Regions from separate parts of the Homo sapiens genome. Here region 1 is linked to region 2. Evidence: promoter capture Hi-C in human tissues and cell types (Jung and others, 2019). All regions are on one chromosome and are shown on one strand. The core of a region is centred on a gene start or on the middle of the fragment in contact, and the rest is flanking DNA. Distances in the headings are between cores, read along the strand shown. Region 1 has its middle 22 kb from the start of SNORA22C. Region 2 holds the start of ZNF92 (zinc finger protein 92).

Region 1 (7,032 bases), core at 1-2,500, 330 kb before region 2:
GAGGTGGGTGGATCATGAGGTCAGGAGTTCAAGACCATCCTGACCAGCATGGTGAAACCCTGTCTCTACCAAAAATACAAAAATTAGCTGGGTGTGGTGGCATGTGCCTATAGTCCCAGCTACTTGGGAGGCTGAGGCAGGAGAATTGCTTGAACCTGGGAGGCAGAGGTTGCAGTGAGCCAAGACCACACCATGGCACCCCAGCCTGGGCAACAGAATGAGACTCCATCTCAAATAAATAAATAAATAAATAAATAAAAATAATTTAAAAAATTGACTTTTCTTTAAAAAGGTGTATTTAGCATACACTCTAAATATTCTCATAGTTATATCCTGCTAGAGCTGCGTGTTTGTGCATAAAACATCAAGTAGTATATTAAAAATATGTATAAGTACATGTAAGACTAAAGGTAACTGGATCTCTTTATAGTTTTAAATGTGAATTTAATATGTTGTGACTGAAAGTGATGTTTCATTGTGTAGCTGTGGACGTAAAATAGTTTAACTTAGATGCTTGCCAAAGGAGGGTAGGTAAAAATAAGATTTGCTAATAAGAAGAGTAGATAACTTATTTGCCATGTATACAGTGAAATTAAGAAATTTGTTCAATTTGATCAGCCTGTTTATAAACTACTTGCAAAAATCAAGTAGCTTATAAACTACTCATTTAATAAATGAATTTACAAATCAACTTGTTTTGCAGGTAGTTTATAAGCAGGCTGATCAAAATCACATATGTATATATATATATATAATCACATATATGTACATATATAGACTCATTTTCTTTTGGAAGTGCGTAGACAAAACATCATTGAAAGTTTTTATTTTGTCAAGCTGAAGGATACTTTTCTTTTTTTTTTTTTGAGACAGAGTCTTGCTCTGTCGCCCAGGCTGGAGTGCAGTGGCGCGATCTCGACTCACTGCAACCTCCACCTCCCGGGTTCACTCCATTCTCCTGCCTCAGCCTCCTGAGTAGCTGGGACTACAGGCGCCCGCCACAATGCCCGGCTAATTTTTTCTATTTTTGGTAGAGACGGGGTTTCACCATGTTAGCCAGGATGGTCTCAATCTCCTGACCTCGTGATCCGCCCTCCTCGGCATCCCAAAGTGCTGGGATTACAGACGTGAGCCACCGCGCCTAGCCTGAAAGAGACTTTAAATGAAAGCTGATTATTGGACACCTCAAGTTAGTTTCTTTTGAGTAGTGATTGCCGTGTAGCAGTAGTACTCAAATATGTAACTCTTTTAGGAAAACAAAGTTTAAGTCCAGAGGAAAGTTAACAGATAAAGATTCTGAAGAAAGTCATCTTCCAGGATCCAGAGTCAGCACGTGGTTTTGGATTGCTCAAACTCACTTTATTCTCATTTCACAAGCCCTAAGTGTCTTAATCCAAACACAATAAGGTAGAGATTAATGAGAGAATCTTGAGAGGCAGGTGTTATCTGTGTGTAAAGTCCTCTATTATTTTGGGGAGGCATAATGATGGAAAGTTCCAGATTTTATATTTCTAAAGAAATATTTCACTGAAATTAGTAGGCTACAATAGAAATGCTGATTTTTCAATTCTACCAGGTACAGCCAATAAAAACAATAACACACCACTATCTCCTGTCATCATCGTTTCATTTAACAAAAGGATATTTCCATTCAAACAATTTGAAAGAACAGAATCTCTCAGAATAGAAGATTTTTAAATGGAATCATTTAGCTATATGGAAAAGTTTACTTTCCGACCAGCCTGGCCAACATGCTGAAACCCCGTCTCTACTAAAAACACAAAACGAGCTGGGCATGGTAGCATGCACCTGTAATCCCAGCTACTCGGGAGGCTGAGGCAGGAGAATCACTTGAACCTGGGATGTGGAGGTTGCAGTAAGCCGAGATCGCGCCATTGCACTCCAGCCTGTGTGACAGAACGAGACTGTCTCAAAAAAAAAAAAAAAGTTTACTTTCGTGTCCTTACTTTTTCCCATTTTCCCATAAATCGGTGAAAACTCTGCTGCAAACCTGCACCAGCCTGCCAGCTAACATTCAGTTAGCAGTCCCTGCCCCTTGGTTTGGTACACTGAGCTCAAATCTAAGGGATCTGGGTGGGCTACCACCTCTCCCAGTTCTTAGGCTTGTGGCCTTATCTTCATGGTGCCTCAGTTTCTTATGTTAAATAGGGCTTTTAACACCTACTTAGGGCCTGGTGCAGTGGCTCACACCTGTAATCCCAGCACTTTGGGACGCTGACACCTGGCAGACCTCTTGAGCTCAGGAGTTTCAGACCAGCCTGGGCAACAGGGCAAAACCGTGTCTTTACAAAAAATACAAACGTTAACCGGGCATGGTGGCGCATGCCTGTATTTCCAGCTTCTTGGGAGGCTGAGGTGTGAGGATCACTTGAGCCTGAGAGGCAGAGGTCTGCAGTGAGCCATGATGGTGCCACTGCACTCCAGCCTGGGTGGTAGAGAGAGACCCTGTCTCAAAAAAAGAAAAACAAAAAAACCTACTTTGCCAGATTAGTGTTATGATGAAAAGTGATACATGTATGTTCCTGAAATAAAGCCTGTCCTCAGTTATAGCTGTTACCATTGATTGGAGATGTTCTTTTTTTTCCAGTGTTTGATAATAAATGCCTTTAAGTTAAGTTTCTTGTACATACTTGTTTATATCTTTAAACATTAATTGTTTTAATGTAGTTTATTGCTGACTTCATAGCATAGTATAAAGATGTGTTCATTTAAAACAATTTTGAAGTTGTGCAAGAGAAACTAATATGCAGAATATTCTTTTTTTTTTTTCTTTTTAGATATGGAGTCTCGCTGCTCTGTCACCAGGACTGGAGTGCAGTGGCATGATCTCAGCTCACTGCAACCTCCACCTTCCGGGTTCAAGTGATTCTCCTACCTCAGCCTCCCAAGTAGCTGGGATTACAGGCGCCCACCACCATGCCCGGCTAATTTTTGTATTTTTAGTAGAGACAGGGTCTTGCCATGTTGGCCAGGCTGGTCTTGAACTCCTGACCTCAGGTGATCTGCCTGCCTCAGCCTCCGAAAGTGCTGAGATTATAGGCATCAGCCACCGCGTCCGGCTGTAATATGCAGAATATTCTATGTAGGTATTTTCTATATATAAGACCCCCTCTAAGAAGGGTTTCTATGTAAGAATAGTACAAATGATCTGGAAAGGTTAATAGGCTTGACAAATCTACGTTTCTTAAAACTGTAAAAATAGTCCAGTTGTCCTATGGTATATGTAAAGAACATATACCATAGGGGATTGGTTCCAGGACCCCTGTTTTTACTGAAATCCTGGCATACCCAAGTCCACACTGTGGGCCCTGCAGAACCTGAATGTGAAAATTTGGGCCTCCATATATGCCGGTTTCGGTCTGCATTTGGTTGAAAAAGATCCACATATAAGTGAGCTCACGCAGCTTAAACCCGTGTTGTTCAAGGGTCCACTGCATTTGAAAATCAAGTCCATAAAAAAGTTGCCTTATTTTACAAAATGTTGGATTACTACCTCTCCCGTATCTTAAAAGTACCATCTATTTACTATCCCATTGAGATAATAAAACTTTTAGAATTAGAATAGAACCTAGGGCTGGGCATAGTGGTTCACGCCTGTAATCCCAGCACTTTGGGAGGCTGAGGTGGGTGGATCACCTGAGTTCAGGAGTTCAGGACCAGCCTGGCCAATATGGTGAAACCCCCTGTCTACTAAAAATACAAAAAATTAGCCGGGCGTGGTGGTGGGCACCTGTAATTCCAGCTACTCGGGAGGCTGAGGCAGGAGAATTGCTGGAACCCGGGAGGTGGAGGTAGCAGTAAGCCGAGATTGTGCCACTGCCCTCCTGCCTGGGCAACAAGAGGGAAACTCTGTCTTTAAAAAAAAAAAAAAAAAGAACCTAGAACTATTTACTGCTCCTTGCTTTGTCTGAGACTCAGAGGTTAAGTGACTTGCCCAAGGTAGCACAGGTAGTAGCAAATTGAGACTTGACACCTGGCTTCCAGAGTACTTATTTAAAGTCCCCTTTGCACCCCCATTTTAAAAATTAAATTCTTGGCCGGACACAGTGGCTCACGCCTGTAATCTCAGCACTTTGGGAGGCCGAGGTGGGCGGATCATGAGGTCGGGAGATCAAGACCATCCTGGCTAACATGGTGAAACCCCGTCTCTACTAAAAATACAAAAAAAAATTAGCCAGACATGGTGGCGCATGCCTGTAGTCCCAGCTACTTGAGAGGCTGAGGCAGGAGAATCACTTGAACCCAGGAGGTGGAGGTTGCGGTGAGCCGAGATCGTGCCACTGCACTCCGGCCTAGGTGACAGAGTGAGACTCTGTCTCAAAAAAAAAAAAAATTAAATTCTTGTCTAGGTAATGCATTCGCTGCTTCGGATTTGAAAGATAACAAAGCATGTACAGTGAAAAGTCTCCTTCATATCCCTTCCACCAAACAGACAGTTCTCCCTCTCAGTAGACCGCTGTGAAACTTTTCAGAGCCGTTTGACACATAGACAAACATCCATGTGACCATATGATTCCCTTTTTTTAACATGGGTGTATCGTGTATGCGTCCTTATTGATAGCCTGCTTTTTGCTTGGCATTTGTTCCATTGCTCCCATACTTTAAATGCTTATGTTCATATTTAGTGAAATGTTAATAACTGCTAGTACGTAAAAGAGAATTTGTTCTAGTAGTTTTGACTAACCAAGATAAATTTCAGAAATAAAATTCTTAACATTATCATTGTTTCTTGGTATGGAAATTTCAGAAGCAGGTTGAACTGAAAAGAGTCCAAGAGGAATAGAGAAATATCACAAGGAAGTGAATCTGGACTGTAGTAGAGATAAATGTTAATACTTACAGATAATGCTCACTATGTGCTAGGCAGTGTTCTAAATGTTTTGCATACATTATTGAAGTCTCTCAAGAGTCCCATGAGGCAGGTAGCTTTTATCACCATTTTACAGATGGGAAAACTGAGCCACTCAGACTAACATTTGATCCAGGTAGTACAGTGGCAGAGGCCTAATTCTAACCCACGCAGTCTGGCTCAAGAGTCCAAGCTCTTTACCACTACTCTTTCGTCTTCCTTTCTTCCTTTCCCTCCCACCCTCCTTCTTCCTTTCCTTTCCTTTCCTTTCTTTTCTCTCTTTCTTTTCCTTCCTTCCTCTTTAATTTTTTGAGACATTGTCTCACTCTGTCTCCCCAGGCTGAGTGCAGTGGTGCAATCATGGCTCACTGCAGCCTCAACCTCCCTAGGTCAAGTGATCCTCCCACCTCAGCTTCCTGAGTAGCTGGGTCTACAGTTGCGCACCCCACCATGCCTAGCTAATTTTTTCTATTTTTCATAGTGACCAGGTCTCACTTTGTTGCCTGAGTTGGTCTCAAACTCCTGGCCTCAAGCAGTCTTCCCACTTGGCCTCCCAAAGTGCTGAGATTACAGGTGTGAGCCACCACGCCCAGCCTTTTACCACTACTTTAAATTCCATTTAGATCTAATATTGATAGAGTGATAACCATATCAACCAGATTTTTAAAATATGCAAACGATGGTGCCAGTTTCTGTATCTGTGACAAAAATATATAGAGTTTGTATTATAGCTTTTACCTGTTTAGAGCACTCTTTGGAAAGGCAGGGAAATTACTGTGAAGGTATTGGTATTCCAGAAGTAAGTTCCTGGAGTGTTTTGCCTTCTAAGGTGTGAGGACGTGGTTTGTCACACCCAGTTAGCTATCAGATAGTGTAGTGAGCTATCCGGAAGACTTAGCAGGTTAGCCTAGGGAGGAAGGAGAAAGGGGTTCTGGGCACATGGAGGGAGGGGGAGGGAAAAGAGTTTGTTTTTGTCCTAGATTGGGGTAGCTTTTTCTGAGGGAGGCCTTGTCCTGTGGACCTGCTGCATATAAAGACAGGAGAATTGGACCTGAGGTGTGGTGCTAGCTAAAGCGCCACACAGATCTGGGAATTTAAGAGGAGTTCATTTCCTCAATCATTAGGAAGAACTTGAAGGGGTAGCAAACTGTGGTCATTTGAGAAGAATAGCAAGTGGTCATATTTGAATGTAACATACTCAACTGGGTTGGGAAAGAACCAGAATCTAGATCTTGCCCATAACAAGTGCAAAACCAGGCGTTCTTGTAAACCATGTACTCTTGTAAACACTGATAAGACATAGCACTGAGTCTTGGGCTTTTCTTCTATAAAGTTGTTGTACTGGTTGAGGATCCCTAATCCAAAAATCCAAAATCTGAAATGCCCCTGTGAGCATTTCCGTTGAGTGTCATATTGGCACTCAAAGTTTTGGATTTTGAACCATTTCAGATTTTGGACTTTCAGATTTGGGATGCTCAACCCGGTATATAATGCACATATTCCCAAATCTGAAAAAATCCCAAATCCAAAGTATTTCAGCTCCAAAGCTGTTTCAGATAAGGAATACTCAACCTGTACTACATTGTACTAGGCTTGTATTAGATTCCCAGTTTTCAAAATTTGTATCTCAGAATCCCTGTTCTCTGTCAATGAAACAGGGATTTCATACACCTTTGATTCACATTTTAATGTTTTAACTTTAAAATATTATAAATGTTTAAACACAGTCAAATGCATCTCATGCTAAATTTTAATATATTAGAGACAACTGATTTGTACTGCCAGGTTATCTCAAGAGAGTTATACTGAGTGAAAACAAGTGAGAACCCTAGAAGGTTATATACTGTATGATTGCATTTATGTAACATTATTGAAATAACAAACCTGCAGAGATGGAGAACAGATTTAGTGGTTGCTAGGAGTTAGGAATGGGAGGTGAGGGGTGGTGTGGTTATAAAGTGGTAGCATGAGGGAGCTGTGTAGGGATGGAACAGTTCTGTGTCTCAGGTGTGATTATACAAAGCTGCAAACGTGATAAAAACTTCATACAACCACACACACACATACTGCATATAAATCCTAGCGTACTCAAGTCCCATTTGCATACAAAACTGGTGAAACCTGAATAAACTCAGGATTGGAGGAATTTGGGCGAGGGTACT
Region 2 (7,731 bases), core at 3,390-5,889:
CTTCATAAGTTAAAGAGAACTTATTCAGAATTGGTTAGGGAGCATTGCCAGGAAGCCATTACTCCTCTGAATGGGCATAATTTTTAGGTCTTTTTTCCCATGGTTTAGAGTAAATGAGGCAATGGTTAGAAATTTATCCCCTATAATTGGGTCTGTAGCAGATTTTACTGTAAAGGCTATGGTTACACGATAGACTTTAAACTTTCTTATTAAAGTTGTGCTAAATGATGAATTTCTCTAGATTACTTACTGGATAAACAGAGAAGTATCTGTGCAGTTGCTAATACTTGTATTTGCACTAGAGAAATACATTGGATATTACAGAGATTCAGTTACAGGAGATTAATGAACAGGATGCTTGGTTGAAATGAATAGATCATTTATCTAGCTAATTATTTGATTTATTTAATTGTAGTTGGTTTGTTCATGGGGACCCTGGCTAAAAAGCGTACTTCAATCTCTTGGTATTACCCTCCTGATGTCAAAATAGTAGTCTCCCTACTGCACTGTATTCTCTCAAAAGTTATAAATGTTTGCATGCAGTCATCTCCAGAATGTCAAATGGTTTCTCATTAACTGGAATGACAAAAACTTAAAGACATATGTGACCATGAGGACACCATGACCTATGAATAACATAATAGATAAGGACAAAAACCCAAAACAATGGAAACTAAGTGGCACGAAGGCCCTGAGTTTTGGTCAAAATCTGACCCACATGAGAACTTAACCAAATGGAGGGAATTTTTAAAACAAAATTATCGGAGGCCACTATTCCTGACTGAGCTTGTGCACTAGGCCCAAACAGACCAAACCAAACCAAAATGGAGTCACTCATGCTAAATGTCACATAAACTGAAAATTTAAGGAAAGAGGTAGATCCTTAAGATCTATAGGCCAGGTTTTGTTTTTCATGTGTAAACAGTAGATTTCAACACAAGGAGGTCCTCTTACTGTAAGCCTTTAAAAAAATAACCTGAAGGCTTTATTTCCACTTTACGAAACCCACAGTTCTGTTACTTCACAGTGGGATTTGAAACTAAATAAGTACATTTTTAATGGTGACAGACTGATATCAGTGTCTAAAGTTTTGGTCTACATCTGAAAATTGAGAAGGTAACCAAAAGGGAAAAATTGTTAAATTAATTATAGCCTAAACCTGCCCCCTTTCCTGTATAAGTTTGGTCAATAGGTATTTTTCAAGATAGTAAACTGAAACCTAACTAGATATGTAAGTAGACTGTAACACATTCTTGTACCAACCACTGTGTTTTTGCCAATAAAAAAGTTAACTGTTCAAACAATGTTCAAATAAGGCAAATCCCAAGCTGTAATCAATCCGGCTGTTTCAGTACCTCACTTTCATTTTCTGTGTGTCACTTTGCTTTTTTTGTCCATAAATCTTTTTCTACCAGGTGGCTGTGCTGAAGTCTCTCTGAGCCTACTCTGGATCCACAGGCTACCTGATTTGCAAATTATTTTTTGCTCAATTAAACTCTGATAAATTTAATATCTCTAAAGTTGGTTGTTTTTAAGTTTTCAAATTTTTTACAATAAAAAATAATGTGTTGGGCTTTGATTTTCTAAACTCATCCCTCAGCGATTTTCCCAGATTATTCTACGTTCTTTCAAAATGCTTCTGCAATTTCTTTTTTTAAAAAAATTTTCGAGATAGGGTCTCACTGTATCACCCAGACTAGAGTGCAGTGGTGTAACCACTTATGGCTGACTGCAGCCTTGACCTTCCGTGCTCAAGCAATCCTCCTGCTCCAGCTCCCCGAGTAGCTGGGACTACAGGCATGCACCATTATGCCATTATGCCTGGCTAATTTTTTTAACTTTTTTCATGAAGACAGGATCTTACTATGTTGCCCAGGCTGCACTTGAACTCCTGAGCTCAAGTGATTCTCCCATCTCAGCCTCCCAAACTGCCAAAATTACAGACGTGAGCCACCGTGTGCATCTGCAGTTCTTGAGAGTATTAGCAATAATTAAACAGTACTATATGGGCATAAATTTGAAAGAATCTGGCATCTATTCTAGAAGGGTCACTCGCCAGGATTTCAAGGGTCTAAGGCAGTTACTTTGGTAGTGTTATTTATGGAGGTGCATTGGCTTTGGGGTCAGACAGAGTTGATCCTGAATCTCAGCCCAGCCACTTAGTAGATGTGGGTCTTTGGACAAGTTTCCTGATGTACAAGAGTTCTATAAACCACATATGCAAAAAAAGGTAGAATGATACTGATTGCAAAAATGGTAGCAATTTTTTATCCCTTCTATGTCCACGCCCGTTGCCAGGGATTTTTACAGCTGTTCCCATTGAGATCCAGAATCTGTTTTCCGAAACCTAGATCTGGCTGGCCTTGTTTGCTCAAGGCAGTAAAAACATGTGACCATGATAGCGTGCCAGTTTGGGGCTTAGCAGTCTTGAATGCTTCTGTTTTTCTTTCACAATGCTGCCATCTCTGTGAAAAAAAGCCCATGCTAGGCAGCTGGAGGATGACATACCATGGGGAGGAGAAGCAAGGTGTCCCTGTTGACAGCTCCAGAAGCGCACATCCAGAAGCACAGCTGCCTAGTTAACAAGCAGCTGATAACACATGTCTGAAGGAGCTCAGCTGAGATCAGAAGAATTGCTCCACTGAGCCCAGCTTAAATGACTGACCATCTCAATTGTGAGCTAAGAAGCCTTAGCTGGGTTGGGCGCAGTGGCTCACGCCTGTAATCCCAGCACTTTGGGAGGCCGGGGTGGGCGGATTACCTGAGGTCAGCAGTTTGAGACCAGCCTGACCAACAAGGAGAAACCCCATCTCTACTAAAAATACAAAATTAGCCAGGCGTGGTGGCGCATACCTGTAATCTCAGCTACTCAGGAGGCTGAGGCAGGAGAATCACTTGAACCCAGGAGGCGGAGGTTGCGGTGAGCTGAGATCGTGCCATTGCACTCTAGTTTGGGCAACAAGAGCGAAACTCTGTATTTAAAAAAAAAAAAAAGCCTTGGTTGGTTTGTTATGCTGCAATACCTAACTAATACGTGCACACAGTGCAGATAGGATGCCAGGATTTAATGACAGGTTGATTACTGGTTGTTATAGTTACCTTCCAACAGTTGGCACCCTAAAAGTGCTGATTTTTTTTTCTGCTCTAAAGTTGGATGTTTTGTAAGATAATATTGAGTAATGCAGAAAAATATGTAGGCATGTTTGCATGGGATTGGTACTTGTACTCACACAATCCCCACGCCACAGGAGAAAACAGATAAACACACTCTGGCCACTAGGGCCAGGCCAAATAGCAAAATAAGTTTACCTTTAATCTGTTTTCTCTATACTTAAACACTGGAAGTGATGACTGTGGAGAGATCTGAAGACATAGCGTTTAATCTCCTGTGGCCCCATCATCTTTTGGTTACTGTCTGATCTCTGGAAGAAAGGTGGGCAACAGGTGGCCAGCAGTGGTGTACCTGTGGTTATTTTATTCTTGCTGCCCTCTGCTCTTTCTATGGTGACTATCTTGTTCCACCCTCAAAACTGTAGAAAGATGTTGGTAAAGAGAGGCTGTCCCCTCACTTCTGGCAGAAAAGGGGTGTTCAGACCCTTCACCCTCCTGATGTCAGGGCTGCATTTCAATGTGGCAGCTATTGGCCATGTGTAGCTACTGGCTGCCTGGAATGTGGCTGGTCTGAATTGCAATGTGCTAGAAAGGTAAAATAGAGTTAATTTCAAAGATTCAGTTCCAAATAAATATATATACTTTATTAATAATTACATATCACTCACATATTAGAATAAGGTTTTAGATATATTGGGTTAAATTGTTACAATCAATTTCACCTGTTTCTTGTTTCTTTTTAAAGTTTGGCTGCTAAAAAATGTACAATTCACGTGTCGCCCACATTTTATTTTAGAGGATTGCCTTCTTTTTAAAATTTCAGGCTGCCTGCTTAAAAAAACAGAAGTTGGCCGGGCTCTGTGGCTCACACCTGTAATCCCAGCACTTTGGGAGACCGAGGCGGGCGGATCACAAGATCAAGAGATCAAGACCATCCTGGCCAACATGGTGAAACCCCGTCTCTACTAAAAATACAAAAATTAGCTGGGTGTGGTGGCGTGCGCCTGTAGTCCCAGTTCCTCGGGAGGCTGAGACAGGAGAATCGCTTGAACCTGGGAGGCGGAGGTTGCAGCGAGTTGAGCTCGTGCCACTGCACTCCAGCCTGGCGACAGAGCTAGACTCTGTCTCAAAAAACAAAAACCAAAAACAAAACAAAACAACAAAACCAGAAGCCAGGAAGGTCATAAAATCTGAAAATTTTGAATAATTGGTATTATATTCTTTGCATTTGTGAATAGACATATAATATACTATTTATAAATGCATATGGCCTTATTCACAAGGTTAAATGCAAATACTGTCTGGGGTGGGCCTGACTCAGCTCAGGGAGGAAGCCCCGTCTGAAAAGGCTGCAGCTTAGGCTGTCACTCTTCCTTCAGTCCAGCATCTGATCACATCTCCCGTCACTCAGGGCCCGAAGGGGCGGGGCCTTAAACGTTATCCAATCAGGAACGCTGGGCTGGGAACCATCCAATCAGGCACGCAACTGGAGCGGACAGCACAGCTTCCGGGATTTGGCGGGGCCTTTGTCTCTCGCTGCAGCCGGCGCTCCACGTCTAGTCTTCACTGCTCTGCGTCCTGTGCTGATAAAGGCTCGCCGCTGTGACCCTGTTACCTGCAAGAACTTGGAGGTTCACAGCTAAGACGCCAGGACCCCCTGGAAGCCTAGAAATGGTGAGCCTGCTGGGTCCCACATCCCGAGAGAGGGGGAGGGTCTGGCTGGAACCGATTGGAAGTGGCTGTGGCGGGCCTCGGGCCTTCCCGCAGTCGGCTCCGAGATCCGCGGCCCGAGTTCTCCTTGGCGCAGCTCGGCCCTCAGTCTCCTTCAGCCATAAGATGGCGGCTGGGCTGACAGCCGGGACCCCGGGCGTCCTGTCTCCTCCCTGCGCAGTGACTGTGCTTTGGCCTGGAGCCCTCCCTGGGCAGCTCTGCACCCGCAGCGTCGCATCTCTCGCCGAGTGTGCAGGGACGACGGGAGAATAGTAAAGAGAAGAATCCTGACTCGGGGTGCGGGGTTTATGAATGGGAAGAGCTTTGGTCCGTGTGGTTCTCAGGTCCTCTTTTTTCCTATTAAAAATTTATGGGAGTCAAGGTAAAAATATTGAAGAATTTAATCAAAGAGCGATTCAGGAATTTTAGAGCACCCAGCTATGATTTGTAGTTTGTGGTCCGTGGGAGGGGCTTGAAGGAAACACTTTTATAAGATGCATAATGAAAAAAAACAAGTTTAATAATTGGTTAGGTACAGTTACGTCGTTTTTTAATTTGTATGATTAAGGTAGAAATTTCCTGGTCATGTAATCAGAGATTGTCAGTTTATAGTTGGTTAAGCCTGAATTTTGTTCCCTCGGTGTTATTTACCCTCCCCTCCCCCCGCCAAAAATGCATTTGAATTATATTTTTTTTAAAGTAGGAACCCAGGGACTAGAGCCACCTCAATCTAATTGCCTGCCACTTAATTATTTTCACATCCACAGGGGACTGATTTTCCCCTGCAGTTTTCACATGTGTCCCAAGCAGGGTCTCAAGTCTACCCCCCATCCCTCATTCCTCCAGCTTAATTCTGGCTTGCAGTAAAATACTAAATTTCCAGTTCCTTCTGACATTCCCAAATGCCAACTTACCCTCCCTAATTCGCATTAGCAAGTGTGTTTCCTTTAGTGTACATTTTCGATGGCATATTTTAATTAATCATTTTTGGCAAAGCATTGGATGGCACGTTTTAAAAGATTTGTTTCCTGTTTGTAAATATTTCCTATGAGAAGAAAGCAAAGAATAATCCCCTAACATTGTATTGTAAATCTCTGTGCCTCTTTTCTTTTTATCTTCCTTAGGCACAGAGATCTTATCAGAATGTTTTTGGGTCATGGTTGCTTTCCCTTTGGAAACTTTATGGGGTGATGTGTTCTCAGCCACCCTTCAGTTCTTTTTCTGGTCCTGGGTTTTAGTACTGTCTGGGGCAAGATACCTACCATGGCAATGTCGCTAGAGTGTCTAGTAAATATCAGCTCCTGGGTCATTTTCTCTCGTAGAATAACCTGAAGTATGGAATGTAGCTTCTCAAGGGAGCAGGTGGATGCCCTGGGGCTGAGAAGCATCTCCTGGGCTACTCTTCCTTTGAAAAGCTTACCCCTTGAGATATTAAGATTGTCTTCACTCAACCCAGCTTTCATTTCTTGGAGAAACATTGCTGGTCAGCCAATCAGATGCTGGTACTGGGAGGAAAACACCAAAATTATTTCTGTCCCCAGGATTCTCTAAGATTTGTGGAAAAAAAAAAAGTATTCCAAAAGATACAACAAAACCTGACCTGGAGATCGAGACCATCCTGGCCAATATGGTGAAAGCCGGTTTCTACTAAAATACAAAAAATTAGCCAGGCATGGTGGTGCATGCCTGTAATCCCAGCTACTCGGGAGGCTGAGGCAGGGGAATCGCTTGAACCCGGGAGAGGGAGATTGCAGTGAGCCAAGATCATGCCACTGCACTCCAGCCTCGAGACTCCGTCTCAAACAAACAAACAAAAACAACCTGATCCCAGTGAGATGGTACAAGAACTTGCAAAGTAAAATACACCTGGGGTATAGTGTCTTCTGAGAGGGTGGTTATTGAGTCTCCCTCTATTGCCCAGGCTGGAGTGCAGTGGCGTGGTCTCGGCTCACTGCAACCTCTGCCTTCTGGGTTCAAGAGATTCTGCTGCCTCAGCCTCCCGAGTAGCTGGAATTACAGGCACGCACAACCACACCCGACTAGTGTTTTGTATTTTAGTAGAGACTGGGTTTCACTCTGTTGCCCAGGCTGGTCTCAAACTCCTGAGCTCAGGCAGTCCACCTGCCTTGGCCTCCCAAAGTGCTAGGATTACAGGCGTGAGGCACCACGCCTGCTGACAAATCTGTTTTCTGATCAGCACTGCTACTTCCTGGGTTTGTCACCTTGAAAATATTTTTTTTTACTTATTTTGACTTTCATTTTATTAGGGCTTGAAAGGTAAGACATATTTACAAAGGGCATAAAAGAGGTGAGTTTCAGGAAAAAATTAATATCTAATCACATATTCCATTTGCTAAAAATTCTTTTACCTTTTTTGTTTTTCCCAGAATGAGTTTAGGAATTTTCTCACTTGTTTTTGTTGTTTCTTGAGACAGACTCTTGCTCTGTCACCCAGGCTGGAGTGCAGTGGTGTGATCTCAGCTCACTGTGACCTCTGCCTCCCAGGTTCAAGCGATTCTGCTGCCTTAGCCTCCTGAGTAGCTGACATTACAGGTGCGTGCCACCATGCCTGGGTAATTTTTGTATTTTTGGTAGAGACAAGATTTCACCATGTTGGTCAGGCTGGTCTTGAACTCCTGACCTCGTGATCTGCCCACCTTGGCTTCCCAAAATGCTGGGATTACAGGCGTGAGCCACCGCGCCTAGCCCACTTGTGTTTTTTATGGCTGGGTAATTACAAACATAATTCTAAGGCTTAGCTTTTAGAATGCTACCAAGGAAAAGAATAGAGATAATCTCTCTTCCATTTTGGCTGTAGAAAATGAATACATTTCCACAAGAAAATATGGTAGATAATTGGTGAGTTACATAGATTCACTTTGCAGAGTAAATTTGTTACAGCGAATATGT

The links. Contacts are between HindIII fragments. The study calls those that stand out against the background at their distance.
Region 1: a fragment that was not itself captured here is called in contact with the fragment with the promoter of ZNF92 in region 2 in 1 of the 25 tissues and cell types used here (hippocampus).

What each region holds. Positions count from the first base shown.
Region 1 is chr7:65,040,782-65,047,813 of GRCh38, forward strand. It overlaps the pseudogene CCT6P3. Among named protein-coding and RNA genes, the nearest start is that of SNORA22C, 22 kb to the right of the region's middle. RefSeq lists an enhancer at 1,916-2,428 and a silencer at 6,057-6,257. The HindIII fragment of the contact is 9,741 bases long and covers 1-6,121 here.
Region 2 is chr7:65,369,216-65,376,946 of GRCh38, forward strand. ZNF92 (zinc finger protein 92) reads left to right here and starts at 4,640. Exons shown (of 4, transcript NM_152626.4): 1 at 4,640-4,785. The coding sequence starts at 4,783. RefSeq lists a silencer at 4,505-4,775 and an enhancer at 4,671-5,070. The HindIII fragment of the contact is 8,860 bases long and covers 1-7,131 here.